Linked DNA regions of Homo sapiens: region 1 is linked to region 2. The links are contacts of gene promoters, found by promoter capture Hi-C in blood cells and fetal thymus (Javierre and others, 2016). All regions are on one chromosome and are shown on one strand. Each heading gives the region's core, a stretch centred on a gene start or on the middle of the fragment in contact. The rest is flanking DNA. Distances are from core to core; before and after follow the strand shown. Region 1 holds the start of DSC3 (desmocollin 3). Region 2 holds the start of DSC1 (desmocollin 1).

Evidence for each region. Contacts are between HindIII fragments. The CHiCAGO score rates a contact against its expected background, and 5 or more counts as called.
Region 1: a contact is called between the fragment with the promoter of DSC3 here and the fragment with the promoter of DSC1 in region 2, in 1 of 17 cell types (neutrophils). The highest score is 6.4, in neutrophils.

Annotation. Positions count from the first base shown.
Region 1 is chr18:31,040,555-31,047,877 of GRCh38, reverse strand. DSC3 (desmocollin 3) reads left to right here and starts at 5,136. Exons shown (of 16, transcript NM_001941.5): 1 at 5,136-5,286. The coding sequence starts at 5,218. LOC124904345 (a long non-coding RNA gene) reads right to left here and starts at 6,345. Exons shown (of 2, transcript XR_007066445.1): 1 at 6,044-6,345; 2 at 2,652-5,436. The HindIII fragment of the contact is 1,969 bases long and covers 4,245-6,213 here.
Region 2 is chr18:31,158,921-31,166,294 of GRCh38, reverse strand. DSC1 (desmocollin 1) reads left to right here and starts at 3,439. Exons shown (of 16, transcript NM_024421.2): 1 at 3,439-3,763; 2 at 6,766-6,850. The coding sequence starts at 3,701. It overlaps DSCAS (DSC1/DSC2 antisense RNA), which reads right to left. Exons shown (of 4, transcript NR_110785.1): 4 at 3,506-3,760. The HindIII fragment of the contact is 8,252 bases long and covers 1,103-7,374 here.

The DNA.
Region 1 (7,323 bases), core at 3,887-6,386, 120 kb after region 2:
CTTGGCCATTGTCTAAACAGAACTTGGAAACAGGGAGAAATAACCAATTTTATTGAACTTGTCAAGAACGCTGCAATCTTACTAGGAGGGGGAACAAAACAACCTTTTTGATACATGCGTACACACCTGCTAGGATTATTACTAGCTACTCAGTTTTTAAATGTTCAGGCAAGACCTCTGTATTAGAGTTGTTTAGAGAAACAGAGATCTGGTATAACCCGTCATAGATGTGTGTAAGTCAAGACTAGTGCTTATCAGTTAGGGAGGGGTGTAGCTTATAACATTTGAAAGACAGATGCAGATATGAGCCTTGAAAGCAATGCAAGAAAAGAACTGGTTATTGTTGTGGGATTGCGCCTACTCAATGAACACTAAATAGCTAATTAGTAGAAAGCTACCCCTCATCTAGAGACAAAAGGCTTGGGAAACTGGGCAGGCTGAAAAGAAAAGACAAATCAAGATGAACAAATCTTGAGGTAAATAGCATTAATTAATATGTAATTATGAACAAATAAAATAATAAATGACTGTTGAGTTAAACAATTTGCTAGCCTATGGGGAGCTGGTGGCAAAAGCTGCCTCTCTGCTCCAGAGCTAGTTAATAGGCATCTAAGCTGGGGGATACACCACTTCTCCAGGCTGATGTTAAGGAATGGTCATCCTGAACTTCTGAGTAAAAAGAAGACTGATGGGGCAATGTATCAGGGAATGACTCTGGGATCAATGACACATGAGGTCTGGCAGTCAGCCCATTCACACCTGTAACCTTCACTCTTGAGCAATGCCTTTTGAACAGACAGATGCATAGAGTGAGTTCCTGGAGACATGTGAACATACAGGAGAAACTGTAGTCTCATCCAGTGGAAAGAGATTTTTCACACTAGAGGAAATCAAAGTGAAGAATTATGTGATGATTCTGAGATGAGGTGGACAAAAAGTTCACCCTGTATCAGGGCTTTGTTACATGGCTTTAGTTTAGTTGCTATAAGAAGTTATCACTCACACAATAGGGTTTTGTCTTTTGTGTGGAAATTACCATTCCTTCCAGCCAGTGGGAAGTTACTGGAAGATTGCTCCTCCCTCCTTAAAAGGACTGGTTGAAGAAGAGGATATTTGTAAAGGAGTCTGAAGATTTTAGTGGAGGAAGAGTAACCCCATTGTAAGAGATCTTGACTCATTAATTAACAAGGAGATACTGGAAGGGAACTTTTCTGAGCTTGGCACACCCTATTTGGATTAAACTATTGTAATAGTGTTACTTAGACTGGATAATGCTGAATTTGAGAAATGTACAAATGTCCGACTTTTGAATGATTGTTGCCAAGGTTATAGTGAAAGGTCACATTTCTGTGGATGGGCGTGAGCTTTCTCCTGAGAGGAAGGGATAGTCCTACTGTCAGTCATTCTGGGGAGATATGAATCCTAGGATGAGAAGTGAGGACGTGAGGAGACCCACAGCAGAACAGGGGGAAGGGGAAATGTCCTTGGAGGCCAAGGGTCATTTGGATCTAGAGTTGAGGTCCTCATTGCTGTGTGGAGTAGCATTCTCATTGGATTGAAATTAGCACCAAGTGCTAATTAGGTGCTTGCCATGGGTAAATAGGTGAGAAGGAGGCACATAGGGATTCTGGGACGGCTCTGGTAGTGGGCAGCAATGCGATATTTATAATTGACTTTTGACTTAAACCTTCTGTTATCCTCAAGGCCCCAGCAGTCTTTTGAAATGACCAAAATGTGGTGGCTGTTCTCAATAGTGCTCTGGGAAATCTGCAGAACCTCTAGTCACACTGCGGCTATTTATCCTAAATAATATTCCAAACATGCTTCTGAGTTCATGTCCCATGGCGGAACTCATTTTTGTGCCACAGGTGTAAACAAATCTTTTACTTGTTTTTAATTCAAGCTTTTTTTTTCATAAATTCCTCTGCTCTTTCTCGTAAGTTTGTCTCAAACATTGTACAGTTGTCCTGGCGGTATTTCGTAGGAGTGTTTGAGGAAACCTACAGTTGCCATGTCACCGTCCAGGTAAGCCACTGAGATGAGTAGGTGTGTTAGACTAGCACCTGTTGGTGCTGAGTTGTGCAAGGCAGCCTGGCTCGTGGGCCAGAGGTCAGGTCCCACCTCCTAAGACTAGTTAGCTCTTCCGTAGTCAGAGATTTCTCATAGGTCCAGAGTAAGAGTACTCTTCTTCATTATCTTGTTTGCTTTCTGCTGAAAATGTTGCAATTCACCTGAATTTCTGAAGTTTTGTTCTTTAGTCTAAAGTCAATTCCCATTTTTGATCCTTTGTTATTGCTGCTCTTACCCTTCAAACTAAGAACATAACAAGGGAAAATAATAAATTATTTTCCCATTTTGGCTCATTATCCTTTTAGCAGTGACTTCCAACTGACTTTGCAGTTTGAGGGATAGGGTATTAAGATAAAGACAGTTCAGAAAACTCTTTATGCTTTATGATACCTCATGATGATTTAAAATTAATTTTATAATAGAAAGCATCCAGTTCTAACTATATCTAAACTGAAGCTCATATTTGAAAAAAAATCAACAAACTATTTTAAATCATAATTTATATGGGAAAATATAAGCAAAAAATATAAGCAATTTAATTTATCCTCAAGTCATATTTATGTTGTAAAGATTCTTCTTTATATGATAAAAATGCATTGCTTTTTATTAGGACTTAGATTAATATACTCATGGTGGACAAACAGGAAATTCCAAAATCATTACTAATACTACATTCAGTTATTAATGTTCGTATTGCACCTAGAATTTTGCAATACAAGTTAAAAATATCCATAATATGTTTTCTTCGAGTTTTTCTAAAGCAGATTCCTACAACTTTTATTTTGCGGAAGCTAAAAATGGAAGCTCACAGCAATTGTCATATTAGTCAGTAGGCTTAACAATAAATATCCTCTATTACACAGCACAGTCAAAATAATCAGGGGATAGCAATTTTAGAGTTTTAGTCTTTCAAAGGACAGTCCTAACCAGGCCAGACTCTCATAAATCTGAAGATAGAGTTGAAATCATAGAAAAACTAAGAATAGTTAGAATAAAGACAAACACTTCAAAGTCTTTCATTCCCTAGGTATTAAAGAAAGCCATATTACAGCACAAATGGGTTCATATGTGCAAACTCACCAAAAGTGACAATTTTGTAACAGTAGTTACTAACCCTTTTCACACATTGAATGGATGGTTCTCCATTTCTGTCAGGATGAAATTAAATTCCTCAGCATGGTTTGTCATGAACCATCTTTCTAACCGAATTCCCAGCCATTGCATGTAACCATTCTGAACCAACCCCTTTCTGCTTTCTTACCCTGGGGCACTCTCACAAGGCTCTCCAGAGCTTCTCATGTCCTGTTGATGTTGTGTTATCTTGAAGCATTCTCCTACCCTTTCCCTTTTCTTTGCTGGGCTTATCGCAACATTTTGCTTCTTCAAAGCTTTCTTCAGCTAAGTTAGATCCTCTCCTCTAAAATGCCTTAACACCTCAACCCTTCACTCTAACAGTGAATTCAAAGTGGTGAGGGAGGGAGATTGGTGCTAGCCATCTCCTTTACTCATCTAAGTTCAAGAAAACCATTCTACTTGAGTTTCTGAGGGCTGGGGGGCTGGAAGTGACTTTGAGAAGCTTTCTCTGAGGTCATGCTGGAGGCACGTGGAGGATGGGAGGTGAAAACCCTGGAGTGGAGAGAAGTTTGGAGAACTTTCTCTGAGACTGGAAGAGCTCTTACATACAGAGACCTCCACTGACGGGTGCCTGGGAGATTCACACTGGGAAGCTCAACTTAGAGTGTCTGAGCCCTTAAAGCTGAGCCTCATGAGTTTCAGGGAAGCCCCAGACTTCAGGGAATACATGGCTTAGACGACGAGGAGTCTATTAGACTTGAGCCAGAGTGAGATGAATGAAGGTCATAACACCCTTTCATGATTAATTGGCTGTCTGAAATTCCCGACCTTGCAACTTTTGAATGGACTTCGAGGAGTAGCATCTCATGTCTGAGAGGGATTTCCTCCTGAATCCAGTAGATGGGAACTCGGGGAACTTAAAATTCAGTTTAGGGAGAAATAAGAGGATGTCCCCCTGGTGTTACAAACGACATCTCTATTAAAAAGTGTAGCCTACTGGGCTAGGAATGATTGTCTTTCGTCCCTTTCTGACTTTGAATTATTTCCGACAGGAACTAGATTTTCTGCATTTCCTTTCTTCCATGCCCTCACACAAAGCTTGGCCGACTTCGGGCCCTGATAAATAGTCGTTGCATGATGTAGAATCTGTAAGCCTCGTTTTAGAAGGTTTTGTGTGGTAGATATTCCTTTGACCACCTGAAAAATTTCATTTTGGTACCAGTAAGTAGTAAACCAATAATTCACATCTAAGAACAAAGTCGTTTTTAGAAGGTTCATATGAGTCCCCCAAACTGACAGTTAATAGAGCGCTGAGTGTAATCACTCATATTTTGGGTGCGTAAAAATGGTTAGATTAGAATTTCTTAAATTTGGTTTTAATTTCTGACATGCCAAAAACTGTTTATCATGCCATCTGGGATAAATTCCTTCTGTCGTGTATTTTGTCATGTTAGTCAAATCCGGAGAGAATACAGTACATGTATTTTGCTTTAATCTGAAAACATTGGCAGAATTTGTTCAGACGTCGAAGGGGAGATCCGCTGATCCAATGACAAGGGTGTTCCTGGCATCCAGCAGAGCCCGTGTCGAGGCAGGGATCCCTGCGGGCGGATTGGGGTTCTGCATTGAGATGCACCGCGCAGCGCCGGCGATGGGGCCGCCCTGGGACGATCTGGGCTGCCAGGGCCTCTCTGCGGGCCGGGCGGGGCGGCAGCGCCGCGGGGCAGCCGAGGGGCGTGGGAGAACTGGCAGAGGGTGCGCCAGAGACCGCTTTCCCGAGCGCGAACGCCCGGGTGGCTGCTGGGGAGCAGAGGGGCAGGCTCGGGCAGCTCCTCAGCCGCGCCGGCGATGATAAAACTTGAGAAATAACAAGGAGTGGCCTCTCCGCGTCCTCTGGGTCCAATCCGGTTTCAGAAGTGAAGTTGCTCCCGGGCAGGCAAGCCTGAGAGAGGCCAAATACACTTAAAAACAAGCAGCGGCGAGAAAAGCACCTCCCGCGCCCTGCACCTCGGCAGGTCTCGCTCTCGGCACCCTCCCGGCGCCCGCGTTCTCCTGGCCCTGCCCGGCATCCCGATGGCCGCCGCTGGGCCCCGGCGCTCCGTGCGCGGAGCCGTCTGCCTGCATCTGCTGCTGACCCTCGTGGTAAGCCAGATCTCGCCGGATAGGGCTGGGGTGGGGACGGGGGTGGATCCGCCCTGGACGCTGCACGGAGCTGGGGACAAAGCGGGCCGAAACGTGACAACCGCGGCTCAGATCAATGCTGCGGGTCTGGTAGCAGCCCCAAGTTCGGGCCTGCAGGAGTGAGGAGAGAAAACGTGTGTTTGCGGGTCGACTCTGGACTGAGCTTTTTGTTTTGAGACAAGGTGTTCGATTGTTGGAATTCTGAGTCGCGCTCAGGCTTCGCTGCGCTCTGGCGGGCGCCGTCGCGGGTTGGGCAGGGGGTTGGGATTCACGCTTCTCCCCAGGTGGTGGAGCTGGTGGTGATGGTGGTTGGAGGGCGCCTTTGGGTGGAGAGGATCCCTGAGAGCTCAAAGCACAGACTTGAAAAGGGATTTAGGGGCTGCCCCCTCCCCAGCTCTGGGTCGCAGTTGACCCGGATTGGTTCGTTAGTGAGTGGAGCCGGGGCTGTGTCCCTGGGTCCCTTGGTGGGGCTGCCCCTGAGAAGTGGGTTTCTCGGTATCTCCCCTAAAGGGTATTCAGAAGCTCACCCAAGCGGTCCACCCCCGCCAGCCACCCAGCTGGGGGCGGGATGTGCCGGGGGCGCGAAAGTGTGGGAAGACCGGGCCAGAATGGGGGTTGGGGTCGTGTTGTGTTTTGGGGATGCTGCCGAGGTGTGGAGGCGGGTAGAGGGTGACAGTGGTGGGGGATGATGGATGCGGTGGGGTTGCGTCGTACTTACTCCGGCTCCGGGGAGGACTGCGCGGCCGGAGCACAGCCTGGGGTTTCGAGTCTACGGAAACCTGCCGCCCAGGACGAAATCCTCTAGGAGAGGAAGTTAGAGACGATGCTCTGAGAACACGGGAGACTTGAAGTGTTCGGAACTCTGGCGGCGCGGTTACACGCGAAGCTTCAGGCTTCAACAGAGTTTCATTCCGCACGCCCAGAAAGGAGCCGCGGACCCGCGACTTACCCGCATCCATGGATGCGCATGGGGTCCGATGGGAGCGAGGTCTATACCCGCGTCGGCAGTGAGCCGAGTCTGGTCTCGCGGATTCTTACTGCTTCCTGGCCCTCCACCCTGGCAAGTGGGAGTGGGTCCAAGGGTTGTCCTCCCTTAAGGTCAGCGAGGTATGAATATGGGATTGGTAGTTATGATCTACGATATGTTTATGGAGAAGGAATTGGACAAATAAGCGCATCCATTTGCCCGGGAACTGTTCCAACAAAGTATCTGAGCTTATGAAGTGACTACAAATGGAAACGGCTTAGAGAATGTGTTCTTTTGTAATATATTTAAAAGCATTTTCAGCTTTTCAGTTTACAAGCATGCATTTGGGGTTTTGTGTTTCCTTTGCGAAGGGATTGAGGATGGGGAACGAAACTACGGGTGCTGCTCTCAGAATTTCTCGCATTCGCTCGAGGCTCCCAGAGGCCATGGAAGACCAGGAGCTTTCCCGGCAAGGCATGGGTGGGGGTGTCGAGCTGTGGCAAGGAAGAAGGTGCGCGTAAATCTAAACGGAGGAAGCTTCAGCTTTGATCTAGCACATACTCGTTTAAGATTTTTTTTTTTTAAAATAATTCCGTTGAGTTTAGGTTAAATGCTGTATCTGGAGACTTAAATACCGGAAAGTGCACAGAAAATGACTATTTCATCTGCAATTGTCAGTTTACAAACACTTGCAATTTCGGACCGGATGGGTAAATTAACACTTCTCTTGACCATCTCATGTATGTATTTCCTTCCTTTTGACTCATACGACTCTCAACTTTTCAATATAATATTAATGACACGGCATTTTAGAAACATTTTTCATTTTATAGAGACTTTAATGGATATCTTTAAACCATTACTTATCTTTAAAACATTGTTTGTTCTAAGGAGACAGCTTTTCAAAGCAAGTCTTTAACAAGAATCTGAGACTTGTTAAATTTTAGTCTTCCCAGTAAGCAGCCCAACAGGTTGAGGGAATTTTCCCATTCTGCATTTTTCCTGTATCTCCTTCCCACCGTGTGCCCCAC
Region 2 (7,374 bases), core at 2,190-4,689:
ACCCATACTAAACTCACAAACCCTTTTTTTACACCTGTAGTTTTTGGTATATTTAGTCATTCATATTTAACCCAAAGTGCCTTGTAATGGCTTCATCAATGTGTACAGCATTCCTACCAGTCTAGGAGTCTTTTAGAATAAATTAGGTCATCTTACAGAGATAATGGTTCTCTCTGTAAATGGCTTTTTTGAGGCCCTGAATTTATTCATAATGAGCCCTTTCTGTAAGTTGGTCATAAAAAAAATCTCTAATGAAATTTGTCACTGTATTTCCATAAAATATATTATTTAAATTTATAAAAAGGTGTTTTTCCTTGATGTGCCTTAAGGTTAAAAAAAAAAAAACTAAAGAAATACAAGAGTCATGTGGATCTTTACATTTAAATCTTTCTCTGTATGACCATAAATGTGTGGTAGAAAACAGATTATGCAATACTTATGTATTTAAAATAAAATATTTTCTTCTATAGGGGTTTCTCAACATTTAATCATTGTTCTTAATTTCTCTTTAAATGGCTAATATATTTAATATTTGCTGCAGTGCCTCTTTTTATCTTATCTTTTGAACTGGAAAGATAACTGCATGTTCTTCACCATAAAGTGTGCCTTTATTTTAACGTCATAAGATTTCTGTCTTCTTTTTTTCACCCTATATGATGCTTTTCTCCTAGCAAAGGCCAGAGCCCAGTATGTAACCCCTTAACTACTTGTTCAATGAATAAACCTATTCATGTATCTTTAGGTAGCCTCTACATAACAGACCTTGGATTTGCAATAACTTTGTGTTTGTTTCATTTGAAGTTCAGTCTCTTCAACTTTTTATTGCATGCCTAGGCAATTATATGGTGTAAAATATTAGTGCTTGCTCTGAGCCAGACACTGTTGGAAGTATTTTCTTTATAATATCACATTTAATCTTCATAACAACCTATGAATTAGCCACTATTATTGTCCCCATGTTATAAAGAGACCGAGGCACAGAAGAGTTAACTAACTTGCCTAGGGGTTATACTGCGAATAAGTAGTAAAGAGAGGATTTGCACCCAGGCAGTCTAGCTTCTAAGTCCAAGTTGTTAACCACTAACAATCTTTTGCTTAAGCTTATTAATTTAGACATAGGTTAAAACAAACAAACATACAGATAGAAATAAAAATAAAATAGAGCTTGCAGTGGTTTGAATGTCCCTGCCAAAAGTCATGTTGAAATTTTGTTGCCGTTGTAATGGTGTTAGGAGGTGGGACCTTTAAAAGTTGATTATGCCATGAAGTCCCCACCCTCGGGAGTGGGTTAGTTATCATCAGAGTGGACTTCTGATAACTGGATAAGTTAGGCCACTTCCCTGTCTGTCTTGTGCACTGGCTTCTGTCTTCTGCCTTCCATCATGGGATGACCCTCATCAGATGCCCATGCCATGCTCTTGGACTTTCCAGGCTCCTGAACCATGAACCAAACAAATTTCTGTTTTTGTTTTGTTTTGTTTTTTAATAAATTACCCAGGCTATGGTATTTCTTTACAGCAGCAGAAAACAGACTAAGACAGAGCTCTTACTGAATGATCTAATGCCAGAAAATTGGAAGAAATATGTCTTGTTTTCATTTAATTTTAAGGTAGATTCACGTTTAAGGAAGAGTCAATAATTTGTAATAATAAATTATTTTTTCCTATAAAGTGCCTATATTTTATTTTTAGGAAACCTTTGTGTGCAAATACAAAATATGGGAGAAATAGTAATGTAACAGATTTGCAAACCAATAATTTGGGGTTAGCTTTTACACAAGTTTTTCTATTACCTTTGAGAAAGATAGATAATGGGAAAAGAGAGCACGCAGAAAGTAGGCCAAAAGAAGTAGGATCAGAACATCAACTTCCCAGAACTGTGGAGAGTATTCTGGATTCATTTGAATTGAGCAGTGCCTGGAATCTCTTCATCCAACCAATATATGCCATTTTTTCAGTAACACCAATTTAATTTTGCTCTTCTATATCTTCCTAGTTCAGTGGAGAATATCATGTTATAGAAAAAGGTAATGATAACTTCATTAGCTGAAAAAAATGTGTTTCTATTTTCTAGGGTTGGAGAATTTGTCTTTGAATTATTTAAGCTGTATGACTATCTATTTATCTGTCTATCTATCTATCTAAATATATACTTAGATGATGCTTAAACATGCACAGAATTACACTTGGCTGTACACATATACATCTAAGTAATTTTTCTATTTCTATATTCCCATTCTTTTCTCCCAAAACGCCAGATATAAAAATATTCCATTAAAATGACTGTATTTTCTGATTGAGAAATCAAATTCCAATGCAGTCACAAAATATGTTTATTAGTGGGTATACCACTAGCAATAAAATACTACAAGATATCTTTTAGTTTTTTTTCTCCTGGGTCATTCATTTTCCAAATCTTCCTAGCTTCTAATTCTAATGAAGCAGTTACATTTATTTCTGTCTCTACATACAAGGAGAAATTGTTCCCATTGTCAAATAAGCTGAAGAAAACCTTTCTTTCCTCCCTTCTCAGCAGCATGGGTGTTGGGCTCTACCTTAACATTTGAAAATATTTATCCTTCTGTCCTAACTTCCATCACTGCCATTGAGTGCAATTGGTATCACTGAGCTCACTAATTTGGGACAGGAATAATGATGCTAAAGCTCTTGTTAGAGGAATCATTAGGGTTTAAAAAAATCTACACTTGATGGCCTGATTGTACTATTAAGCTAGGATATCCTATGTGTAATGTACAAGTAATTAGGGTGAATAGAGTGATTTTAGAGAGACTTGCTCTCAAAGATTGTAGTTGTCCTTGAAAAAATATAAAGGTAAAAAGCAGTGGCATCTTGTACAACAAAAGGAAAGCCACAAGAAAGATTATATGCTAGCTATTTCTTTATTCTCTTTCTTTTATGAAGTCTTTACATTCTGATAAGTTTCCTGTGACATCTAGAGAACCAACCACAGTGAATAGTCAATAACAGGAAGTAGATACCATGCCTTTATGAAGTTGCTGCTTTAAACTGGAATGCCAGTTCTCTAGCAGAACTACAGTGTTCTACAGGACCGATGACACTTAAATGCTTAGATGGGAGATAACTTCTGATGAGTGTGATTACACACGCTTAGGTCCTCTGATTTGCCAATGGCAGTTGAGGAGGCATCACTTCCTTGCATGGCGTTTGTGCACAATTTATGTTTGTACCCGAGGGCAAGACAGGTTAATAAGGCCAAGAAGGAGGGGAGGCTGTGGGAGTGGGTAATAACTGGGGAGGACTTCACAGCATCAACCTGGGGGAAAGGGAGGAGGGCTGAGGATGAAGGGTGTTCCCTCCTCCTTCTGCCTATGTGTTAAGTGGCAAGAGAAATTTTGAAAGCTGCTGTGAGGAGGAGCTACTGACTGGGTTTTGGGGTGTTTTGTACCCCACCCTCCTCACTTGTAGGAAAGCCTCTTTGCATTTAGACGTAATTGAACTGGAAGGAAGGAGACTGGCCAGGGAATAGGGGGAAAGAAATTCTCCCGTTGCTCCTCCTACTGTTTATCACTTGCCTCCGGACTGTCTTCCAAACCAAGCTCAGCTGCATCAAGGTGGCAGCAGAATACCCTGTGCAAGTGCCAGCGTCTTCTTAGCCGCTCTGTGCATCCCAGGCTGCCCTGTTATCTGGCCACCGTCCCTGGCCATTGGGACTGCTTCTGATGGCTCTGGCCTCTGCTGCCCCAGGGAGCATCTTCTGTAAGCAGCTCCTTTTCTCTCTCCTGGTGAGTAACAACCAAAGGATTAGGGAATTCAAGCATGTTACTACCTGCTTCCTCTCTGCAGTTTGGGCTTGAAAGAGACTAGGAGTGAGGATGGGAGGCAGAGAAGAGAGATTGGGGAAAACAAAAGCAGATCTGAGGAAGATTCAGGGAAGAGTTGAGAGGCTTGGGATTCAGGATGGAAAGTGTTCAGCTTACTTCTCAAGCACCCACTGCCAGAGTGTTAAAAGTTTTCAAGGGAATCCCTCTTCCATCCTGCTGTGGTGATTTTCTAAGAGTAGAGAAGTGAATTCATTCTTTAGGCATTTGGCCCAGAAGTTTCTGAGGTTTACTTCTGCTACCAGTGATTACATAAACTCATGTTATTTAACATGCTGAGTTCTACTAAGCTGCAAAAAAAGAGAAAGGATTCTGGGTGAACATGCAAATTATCCAGGACTTTTTGAATTTTACCCACGAAGCAGTTTAAGCAAAGAATAGTTTAAGAAAAATAACAAAAATGTGACTGTCATTGAAAATATCCTCAACTTGGCTTCCACTTGGGTTTTTAATAGCTTTGTAACTGTGTAAGGTGCTATTTTTTCTTTGGAGGTGAGGGAAGAGAGGGGGGTTATTTCACACATCCGTCCATCATTTCTGAGGTGTGAGTTTCCTATTTTTTCATTTTAGCAAAATACTTGAGTTTCAAAATATATTTTTAGAAATGGCAGGTATGAGGACAAACATTTTCTCCATGTAAATAATATACAATGCAGGGTTGATGGTCACCTTCTCATCCTGTAACTGCTTAGGGAGACGATAACTCAGATACCATCTTAAGTTAGTACAAGTTTGGTAAAATGTGGTAAAAATGTTTCAAAGGATTCTACCCACATTTCTTTTGCTTCTGATCCCTGTACTGTCTAATATCTCTTGGACAATTCATCTCCTGTTTATTTATTTCTGACTCTGAAACTGACTAAAAGGGTGTCACTAAGCCACTTAGTCAGTGATTTAACCTGAAGACGGGAATAGTATTTAATGAATGGAAACCTTCAGTGGCTCTGCCTGCAGAGGGAGGACCATCAACATGGAATCCTAGGACAAGAAGGAAAGAAGATGGGGGTGGGAGTGGAAGTGTGGATATAACTATAAGAATGTCTCATATATTTATATATATATATGTACATTTATATATATATACACACACGCACATATACAGTCATGCTCTGCAAAACAATGCCTCAGTCAATGATGGACTACATATATGAGTGGTCCCATAGATTATAATGGAGCTCGTCTGTATAGGTGAACCATTTTTTATCTTTTATATTGTATTTTAATGTACTTTTTCTATATCTAAAAATGTTTAGTTACACAAATACTTACAATTGCCTACAGTATTCAGTAGAGGAACATGCTGTACAGGTTTGTAGCTTACAATAAGCTATACTATATACTATACACCTAGGCTGTACCATGGTGCATACCATGGGGCATACATATATAAATCATGGTGTATACCATGTAGGTATAACCCAGGTGTGTAGTAGACTATATCCTCTAAGTGTATGTAAGTATACTCTATGATGTCTGCACAAGGATGAAATCACCTAACGTTGCATTTCTTAGAATGTAAGCAATATATGACTGTGTGTATATATATACACACATACACATACATATATAGGTATAGGTATATGTACAGGTATATGCATATGTATGTGTACATATGTATATGTATGTGTTTATGCATAGCCTAATTACAATATGCTGTTTCCACATTGTATACTTAGACAACTATTAACAGTATGGTCTATGCTTAGAAAGTTCTTTAAGTATAATTTATTATGTTCCTTGGCATTAGGGATGAACATATTTAAAAAGTTAAATAAATACGAATGTCTCACGTTTTAAAAAGTGGTTTTTAAATTAGGACTAAATAAAAATGTGGCCTTTTAATTCCAGATTTCTGCCTAACATAGATTTTTGTAAAATTACAAACTATTTAATTAGACTGCTACAGTATATCTGGTAGACTTGAGATGAGCTGGAAAAGAAGTGCACATCCTTAATATGGATGTTAATCCATTCTCTTTCCTCCTCGCAAGTAATGGGTCCCGTAACTCTAGAATTCAGAGAAAAGCTGAAAGCTGATCATAAAATTGACCTACATGTTTCTGGAAAACCTAGCTCTACTCTATCTTATATTTAAATAATAAAAAAGCAGTTATTTTGATAAAGAGGAACAAACAGAAAATGCCAAGAAAAAGAAGTAAAATATATTTTGAACCTATAGACATTTTTGAAATGATAGCTTTTCTTTTGTTTTTTTCAGATAGTGTCTATGTCTTTGAACTACCTAGGTTTTAAAAACAATAGCTGGGCCTTGAATTTAATTAAAAATCTTCACCCATCTGAAGGATACTCTCCATATTTTGACATATATTTCTTTTTAGATTAGTCATGTGATTTGAGATCATTTAGATTTTGGCGTTTTGGCCAAGTCAGTCACAAAATTGATTTGAGAACAATGATTTTTTGGGGGCATTATTTTTCTGTGAGGTTAAAAAAGCCCTTAACTATTTTCTAGACTTCATCAACTATAACTTCAAATAGTAAAATGATGATTAGAGAATTAGGGCATATATGTAATTATGCATTTCAAAGGTAAGTATTTTCTTCATGCTAAAAATCAGAATGGCATTTATGAATGGTCTTAGAGACGTATAACTTCTATATAAAGTCAATGGTTTGTGAAATATTTTCTTGCATTGACACAATATGATTTAGGTTCTAAGAACTACTATTCACTTAATTTTTTTCATTGACAAATAAATGACAGTGCTATTCCTAAAGCTATTCTCTTTGCTGGTTCCTTTTAAAGTGAGTATTAAAAATGTAAAGAATTAAATGATTAATTTGTTTCCAAAATTGACAATATTTTTATCAATAAGAAAAAGCTACAATGTGAAAATTTGTGATCAAATTTAATTCCTGATATTTTTTCTTTTTTTTTTTTTGAGGTTTTAACATTACTTTGCGATGCTTGTCAGAAAGTTTATCTTCGAGTTCCTTCTCATCTTCAGGCTGAAACACTTGTAGGCAAAGGTGAGAAACACTATTAACAGTTTCATAGCTGTAACTTGTCACATTTAGCTGCAGGCTGCTCTTGTAAAGTTTGGGATAAAAACCACATAGTAGGCCGGGCGCGGTGGCTCACGCCTGTAATCCCAGCACTTTGGGAGGCCGAGGCGGGTGGATCATGAGGTCAGGAGATCGAGACCATCCTGGCTAACAAGGTGAAACCCCGTCTCTACTAAAAATACAAAAAATTAGCCGGGCGCGGTGGCGGGCGCCTGTAGTCCCAGCTACTCGGGAGGCTGAGGCAGGAGAATGGCGTGAACCCAAGAGGCGGAGCTTGCAGTGAGCCGAGATTGCGCCACTGCAGTCCGCAGTCCGGCCTGGGCGACAGAGCAAGACTCTGTCTCAAAAAAAAAAAAAAAAACCACATAGTAGCTACTTGAAGTTAAAATCGGATGTACAATAAAAGACAGGCTACTTGTTTTTTGGTAGTGGTTAGAAATAATTAAAATACCAAAGTTAGTTGTATACTTCTCTTGCCAAAAAAATTA